Linked DNA regions of Homo sapiens: regions 1 and 3 are each linked to region 2. Evidence: promoter capture Hi-C in human tissues and cell types (Jung and others, 2019). All regions are on one chromosome and are shown on one strand. The core of a region is centred on a gene start or on the middle of the fragment in contact, and the rest is flanking DNA. Distances in the headings are between cores, read along the strand shown. Region 1 has its middle 23 kb from the start of LINC01355. Region 2 holds the start of ID3 (inhibitor of DNA binding 3). Region 3 overlaps PNRC2 (proline rich nuclear receptor coactivator 2).

Region 1 (2,700 bases), core at 96-2,595, 300 kb after region 2:
ACAAAACAAAACAAAACAAAAACAAGCTTCGTCATAGTATCATGCTTGGAGACAGTGCCAGGGATGGAATACAGCAACTTAAACAAACAACAGCCCTTTATATGGCAGCATAAACTGAAACAGCTCCCCTTTCCTCCTCCAAGATGAGGGGAGAAGCTTGGGCTGAGCTGGGCACCTTTTAATGTTTCCTAATTTGAGGAAGCTTTGTAATACAATTCAGGGCAAGACGGGGGAAAGGCACCTTTTGCATAATAAGACCAGAGCTATCTAACAGCAAATAGGATACAAATCAGGGTAACAGAAGAATACTAACTTGTCACTCAGAAAGGCATGCTCTCCAGGAGACCAATTCTCATGGGAGAGGAGTGTTTGCTTTCAGATGTTTACCAGACTAGAGGTTCAGCCTGGAAGCACCCAGAGATCCCTTCCTCACCCATGGAACCAGGGCTCGCCTTTGCATTGGACAGGGCTGGCCTAAAGAGAGACAACAATGAGAAGAGAGAAGAGAGTCAGGGAGCATGGGAGCAACTGCAGGACACCCTCTCTGTCACCCAGGATACATTTGTAATGCAAAGAGCTGAACAATCCATCCCAACTCCCTCTACTGTCTTCCCAAGACCAAGAGAGATAATGGATCTGAGAGTCTCATAAAATGCAATTTGGGTGCAATCAATGACCACCCAAGAAGAGTTTGGCAACCTCTTTCTTCAGGTTTCCTCCCTGGAGCACAAGCTTTCTCAGCCAAGGCACTATTGACCTTTTAGGCCTGTCAATTCTTTGTGGAAAACCACGGCTCCAGCAGAGGCACAGGTGGATTTATTGAGTTGCTAATGAAGTCGTGGCCTCAAAACCCTTCATTTACACTATTAGCTCCTTCCAAAGAGCTGAGGGAGGTCCTAATGAATGATGTGTTCACAGAGTGAACGTTTTTTGTAAAATTTGTTAAAAACATTTTTTAACTGCAATTGGTTAAGATCACTCAGTCACACATTATCTCCTTTTACTCCAGCACTTTCTTATAAAAATTTGTATTTTTGTGGCTTTTTTTTTTTTAGAGAGGGGGTCTTGCTCTGTCACCCCAAGGCTGGAGTGCAGTGGCTCAACCATGGCTCATTGCAACCTCCAATTCCTGGGCTCAAGGGATCCTTCCACCTAAGCTTCCCAAGTAGCTGGGACTGCAGACGGGAGCCACTACTATGTCTGATAATTTTTTTTTTTTTTTTTTTTGAGACGGAGTCTCGCTCTGTCACCAGGCTGGAGTGCAATGGTGCGATCTCGGCTCACTGCAACCTCTGCCTCCTGAGTTCAAGCGATTCTCCTTGGTTGCTGAGTTCAAGCGAGTAGCTGGGACTACAGGCGCACGCCACCACACCCAGCTAATTTTTGTATTTTTAGTAGAGACGGGGTTTCGCCGTGTTGGCCAGGATAGTCTCGCTTTCTTGACCACGTGATCTGCCTGCCTTGGCCTCCCAAAGTAGAGTCGGGGCTCACTGTGTTGCCCGGACTGGTCTTGAATTCCTAGCCTCAAGTGAACCTGCCAAAGTGCTGAGATTACAGGCATGAGTCACCACACACAGCCAAAATTTGTATTTGTAATTTTTAATCATTTTTCTTTTTTTTTTTTTTTAATTCATACAGAGTCTCGCTCTGTCGCCCAGGCTGGAGTGCAGTGGCGCGATCTCAGCTCACTGCAAGCTCCGCCTACCGGGTTCACCGCACTCTCCTGCCTCAGCCTCCCGAGTAGCTGGGACTACAGGCGCCCGCCACCACGCTCGGCTAATTTGTTGTATTTTTAGTAGAAACGGGGTTTTACCATGTTAGCCAGGATGGTCTCGATCTCCTGACCTCATGATCCACCCGCCTCGGCCTCCCAAAGTGCTGGGATTACAGGCGTGAGCCACCGCGCCCGGCCTTTTTTATCATTTTCTTAAAGATGGTCCCCCCCAGTAGCCTAAGCTTCAGGCCCCACAAAACCCAGATCTGACCCTAGAGTAAGACAATCCTTGCTTCTACCCCATCCTCACATACTCAAAGTTTTTAAACCTCTTTAGGCATCAGTTTCATTTGAAAAATTGGTTTATTAATGGTGATTTCCTAAGATTCTTGTGAAAACTAAGTGATAAAATGGAAACTGCTTAGCCTACTGCCTAGAACAACCACACACTCAATACATGGTAGCTGTTATGAAAATAGTGATATATTCATTTCCTGATAGTGGAAATCAAATGTGGTGACCGCTTCAGTTGGGAGAAGGACTACCAGCTTCCTGATGGCGGGAAACCACGATGACACTGAGGAGCTAAAACATTTGGCTAGAACCATCACCAAGGAAAAAGTCTGGTTTTGAAAATGATGCCAGGCACGGTGGCTCACATCTGTAATCCCAGCGCTTTGGGAGGCCAAGGCAAGCATATTGCTTCAGCCCAGGAGTTCAAGACCTGCCTGGGCAACATGGCAAAACCCTGTCTCTAGCATTGCAACATAGTGAGACCTCATCTCTACAAAAAATACAAAAATTAGCTGAGTGTGGTGGCATGTGCCTGTAGTCCCAGCTACTTGGGAGTCTGAGGTGGGAAGATTGCTTGAGCCCAGGAGGTCAAGGCTGCAGTGAGCAGTGATCATGCCACTGCACTCTAGCCTGGATGACAGAGCAAGACCCTGTCTCAAGAAAAAAAAAAAGAAAAAGCAAATGATGATGGA
Region 2 (2,700 bases), core at 201-2,700:
GGGCTAGCATGATGAACCCAGGGCTCTCAATTCCCAGTCAGTGTCCTTTTCAACCGTTTTGCGACTCTCTTTGGCTCTGAGCCCCCCTTGTCCTGTTAATCAGTGCCACACATTATCGAACTCTTGTTTCCTGTGTTAATCTTGTCTCCCCAAATTGTGAGATTCTTGAAAGCAGGAGCCACTGTTTTATGCGGAGGGACTCCATAAATATTCACCAATGATTCATTAGGAAAGCAACTATTGGGGGAATCCCACTTGGTCATTTCCAAAATGGAAAGCAGCATCTTGGAAGTGCAGGTCCCCAAATGTCTAGGGAGGTGACAAGAAGGCAAGCAAAGAATCAAAGAATACTGAGCACAGTGTCCTGTTGCAATACAGGACTTAGTTTGCCGGCCCTCTGGTTCCTTTCCTGGTCTTTCAGATGGAGCTGGAGCTACTTCAGCAGGGCTAAGAATAATCAAGTCCAGGTGGCCTGCCCTTCCATAGCAGAAAGGGACAGACAATAGAGCAATGAAATTACCACTGTTTTCTACACAGAGGTGTGTGGAAAGTGAAGAGAGGGGAAGTTAAGAAATTTGCTGACCCAATTGGGTGGGGGGGGGCTCTTAAAAAGGTTTATGTAGAAATTGTCCCATCTGTGCCTCCATATTTAAAACCTTGTCCAAAATTCTAATTGAACTCACAAAGCACAACTGTGCATATATTTAGTTCGTTATGGAGTTTATGGGGCAGAGGGTCCAGGCTCCTTTTTTCCCCATGCAAAAAGCATGGGCTCAAGCTTTCTTCTTTTCCCCTGTTGCTCAAATAAATAGTGTTCTTTGCTCAAACCCCCTTTCCCTCCTCCTTCTGCAATCTCAGCGCCTAGCGCAAATCTGTTTTCTTCATTGTAACCTCAGCTTCACCGCAATTAATTTTTTTTCCCTCTGGTCACAAGATAATTCCTGACGCCAGTGAGTCTGGAGGTCAGACGAACAGCAAATTGGGGAACAAGGCGGCACTAATTCCTTACAAGTTTCCCTTGAAAAATCTTTCGCTTAAAAAAAACGGGGGGTGGGGGGAGCTTCTTTGCTGTTCAGGGATTTATGACCTCGGAGGAGCTGTGGCTCGAACCAGTGTTGGGCTAAAGGCGGACTGGCAGGGGGCAGGGAAGCTCAAAGATCTGGGGTGCTGCCAGGAAAAAGCAAATTCTGGAAGTTAATGGTTTTGAGTGATTTTTAAATCCTTGCTGGCGGAGAGGCCCGCCTCTCCCCGGTATCAGCGCTTCCTCATTCTTTGAATCCGCGGCTCCGCGGTCTTCGGCGTCAGACCAGCCGGAGGAAGCCTGTTTGCAATTTAAGCGGGCTGTGAACGCCCAGGGCCGGCGGGGGCAGGGCCGAGGCGGGCCATTTTGAATAAAGAGGCGTGCCTTCCAGGCAGGCTCTATAAGTGACCGCCGCGGCGAGCGTGCGCGCGTTGCAGGTCACTGTAGCGGGACTTCTTTTGGTTTTCTTTCTCTTTGGGGCACCTCTGGACTCACTCCCCAGCATGAAGGCGCTGAGCCCGGTGCGCGGCTGCTACGAGGCGGTGTGCTGCCTGTCGGAACGCAGTCTGGCCATCGCCCGGGGCCGAGGGAAGGGCCCGGCAGCTGAGGAGCCGCTGAGCTTGCTGGACGACATGAACCACTGCTACTCCCGCCTGCGGGAACTGGTACCCGGAGTCCCGAGAGGCACTCAGCTTAGCCAGGTGGAAATCCTACAGCGCGTCATCGACTACATTCTCGACCTGCAGGTAGTCCTGGCCGAGCCAGCCCCTGGACCCCCTGATGGCCCCCACCTTCCCATCCAGGTAAGCCTCGAAGTCGGGACAGGGCTGAACACCCAGGCAAGGATGCTGCGGGACCCTCGGAGCTCCCGATTGCCTCGCGTAACTCTTCCCTCTTTTCCTCTAATCAGACAGCCGAGCTCACTCCGGAACTTGTCATCTCCAACGACAAAAGGAGCTTTTGCCACTGACTCGGCCGTGTCCTGACACCTCCAGGTGAGTATCTCCTCTCTTGGAGAGGGAGGTTTAAACGGCAAGTCCTGGAGTTGGCAGACGTTTTGAAAAATTGCCACTCACTCGGTTTAGGGAAACTGAGGCCAGAGAGGGACAAGTGACTTGCCCATGGTTGCATCAAATGAATGGCAGAGTCAGTTTCCATGTGATGTGCATTTAAGCCTTAAATGCGCCTGGGCCCTGCCCTCCCGCAGTGGCCGAGGGTCTGGCAAAGTAGACATGGGTCCGACTAAATACAAGTCTTTCTGTTCCATGTTGTATAGGGAGCTGTCTTCGGCAGCCCCCTCCCAGCTAGTGTCAATTCCAAGTAGGAGGGGTAGCGCAAGCTCCGCCTGTGGTCTTTGGCGCCAACTGGGTGGGGGCAGCGTGGGGCGCGGAGTTATCAGCTGGAGGTACAGACCAAGTTTCCTCCCTGGCGCCGGCCAGTCTGCGGACGGCCCCCGCCTCGGCACGCTCGGCGGAAACTGACTGCTCCTTGGTCTTCTTTCCTCCCCCGCCCAGAACGCAGGTGCTGGCGCCCGTTCTGCCTGGGACCCCGGGAACCTCTCCTGCCGGAAGCCGGACGGCAGGGATGGGCCCCAACTTCGCCCTGCCCACTTGACTTCACCAAATCCCTTCCTGGAGACTAAACCTGGTGCTCAGGAGCGAAGGACTGTGAACTTGTGG
Region 3 (2,700 bases), core at 180-2,679, 400 kb before region 2:
CCCCTTCCTCTTAACAGTGTTGGTTATCTTTATTATGTTTCTGTGTATTTGTAACAGCTGTTTCACCCTTGTATTGCATAATGGGGATTTTTCTTGGAATAAAAAGTGAGGCATGTAAATTCATTGAGAACTAACCGTAGTTTGTAAAGAAGTAAAAGGCCTTTGTATCTAGTTTTTTGCAGATCACATTTCTTTGAATGCTGGAAAGTGAAATAAACTGGTCTAGGAGCCAAAAATAAATCTTGGGTTTTTTTAAGATTTTGCTCTTAGATTTGTAACCACCTGGGTACAACTTTTTCCTAATTTGTGTAAGAGGTTTTAGAGATGCACTCTGTCCCTCTTGCTTTACAAATTGCCTACAAGAATGCAACCAAAATACTAGAAACTGAAACTTACACAAAACCTTTCAGGTTTTTTCCTGTGTTGTAGTTCTAGGGAAGAGGATAGTTTATTAGTATTTATTTTAAGCTTAAGGATAGGTTTTGGACCTGGATTCCATCATAGTATAACTGCCATCGAAAAGAAGACAAATTGAAATTACAGCATTTACCTAAGGTTCACAGTATGGCTGACTTCAGCAGCCTTACATGGTAAGTTCTCTGTACCAGCTATTTTTGGTTCTCGCAATTGCATCGACTTGGGAAATTCCTATCACCATTCTCTATATAGGCTAACCAAAACTTTTATCAGTACCTTTCCTAAAGTATGAAGTTAGGTAATCTTCCACTCCCACTTCCATTTACTCATTTTGCTTGAGTCAAACCAAAAATCTAGTGTATTACTAGATTAGTCACTAAAAATCTAGTGTATTCAATATATACACTAGATTCAATATATAGCTTAAAAACTAACAGACACCTAGGCTGAGATTTGTCCAATACATGAAGTTCAATTCTGCAATCCTTGGCATTGTTCACAGAAATTACCCTGGAAACAAAATGAACACCCAAATGCTGGTTCTGCCTTAACTCCAAATTGTTAACTAGTTTGCATGAAAATAATACAGCTTTGCCATGGGACTAGTTGTAGCATTTTAAGGATTACTCAAACTAGTTTTAAGATGCCCTATCATTTGGAATCTGTATCAGAAAGGTGTGGTTGTGATGCTTTTCTTCTGAGGGGTCCCCTTATATACTTTTCATTTGTCAACATACTTAAAACACAAGGGTTCTTGTCAACTTGATAAATTTGCTTATAATTTTTTTTCTATGAACCTAGATCATGGAATTAACTTTCAAAAGCTTTGCGATGTTTTCCATGTGTGGCCTTTTTTTTGCTTTTTAATTAACACTACTGGGAGAGAGAAATCCTAAGTAGTTGCTTAACTGCATAGCTGTCAAATCCTAGTATCTTCTGTATCAGTCAGCAAACTAGTTGCCCCTTTTCAAGCCAACAGTCCTATCACATTTTAGTTGTGACCTTTTTTATATATACGTATATATATATGATCAGAAATGTAGTGGTTCATAGTTCTGGAGTCTGAGAAATCCAAGAGTTTGGAATATTGTGAGTGTATTATGAGCTTCAAGTCAGTGACAAGTAAAACACATTTTTAAAAAGAATATTAAGCAATCAAAACCATTTTTAAAATAAAACCAAGCCAATGGGGAAAAATTTTATTTAATTTTATGCTTCACATTCATATCATGTACATTAAGTACTACATAAACTTGTCTTTAGGCTATCAATATTTAACTTGGGCAGTACTTCATCTTGATTTATTTGGAGAAATACAGCTTAGGCATCTGCTTACCTGCTTAGGCATCAAGAGGTGCCAAATTAGAAAATAGGGCATTAACAATCAAAATTTTTAAGCTGACCCACATACTTGCTACTGGTTTCGCTTATGTTTAAGCATTTAAAGTTGGCAAAACATGTTATCAATGTATTATGCAAGAGTTTACATCTTTTGCATAAGTGGTCCATTGGGTTGCACCTACCCCTTGACCAAACAAAAACAAAACATCACTGGCACCATACTCGAAACTACCTGTATCCTAGGTTATAAGATTGTGAAAGCCAACAATCTATAAGGTTGGAGGGACTCTAGTTAATCTTTGGGCTTAGAGGAGGAAAAAAAGATAGTCCCATACTGCATTTCACATCTCTTAAAAATAGTTTTAGCAGCTTAAACCTTTTTAGTTATAAAACTTATTACACTAGGGTTTACTTTGAAATATAGTTTACAACCAAATCAAGTATAACATACATACACTGGCACTTTAGCACAAGGGCAAACTTTAAAAACAAGTTATTTTGGACCTTTAAAATTAGGCCATATTATAAAAAACAGTCCACGGTCTTACATTCAGCAAATTCATACTAAAATACTCCATTTTTGTAAGATAAAGGCCAAGAAAACTTTACATATGCTACAAGTTTATTACAGATATTTACATGGCTCTTTCTCCCCTAGGTACTTAAAATTTTCACATTATCCAACTCCCCAAAGCAAGCTTTGCAGGAATGATGAGGCCAGAGCACTATTAGAATAGCTTGTGCAGTGCTGTAATACAAAAATGTATTTTGAAAGCTATTGAGTGACCATTAAATACTGTTTCTATAAAAAATGGTTTTGGTGTATTTGTTGACAGACACTTAATCCACTACATTTAATAAACAGGGCCATTGGGGTGTACTATGTCTCATTCTAATGAGCTCCAAATGCCCTTTCCACCCACTGTACAATTCACTAAAATG

Evidence for each region. The method cuts DNA at HindIII sites, captures the fragments that hold promoters and counts their contacts. A contact is called where the count stands out against the background at its distance.
Region 1: a fragment that was not itself captured here is called in contact with the fragment with the promoter of ID3 in region 2 in 3 of the 25 tissues and cell types used here (hippocampus, mesenchymal stem cells and pancreas).
Region 3: a contact is called between a fragment that was not itself captured here and the fragment with the promoter of ID3 in region 2, in 1 of the 25 tissues and cell types used here (pancreas).

Annotation. Positions count from the first base shown.
Region 1 is chr1:23,261,537-23,264,236 of GRCh38, reverse strand. No RefSeq gene overlaps it. Among named protein-coding and RNA genes, the nearest start is that of LINC01355, 23 kb to the left of the region's middle. RefSeq lists an enhancer at 126-960. The HindIII fragment of the contact is 3,246 bases long and covers 1-2,700 here.
Region 2 is chr1:23,558,251-23,560,950 of GRCh38, reverse strand. ID3 (inhibitor of DNA binding 3) reads left to right here and starts at 1,450. Exons shown (of 3, transcript NM_002167.5): 1 at 1,450-1,824; 2 at 1,932-2,016; 3 at 2,536-2,700. The coding sequence starts at 1,525. The coding sequence ends at 1,991. The region is part of intron 2 of LOC124903876 (a long non-coding RNA gene); the gene reads right to left. RefSeq lists silencers at 1,137-1,383, 1,251-1,510 and an enhancer at 2,451-2,580. The HindIII fragment of the contact is 6,582 bases long and covers 1-2,700 here.
Region 3 is chr1:23,962,344-23,965,043 of GRCh38, reverse strand. PNRC2 (proline rich nuclear receptor coactivator 2) reads right to left here. Exons shown (of 3, transcript NM_017761.4): 3 at 1,582-2,700. It overlaps SRSF10 (serine and arginine rich splicing factor 10), which reads left to right. Exons shown (of 6, transcript NM_054016.4): 6 at 1-697. Among named protein-coding and RNA genes, the nearest start is that of PNRC2, 3.9 kb to the right of the region's middle. The HindIII fragment of the contact is 3,642 bases long and covers 1-2,700 here.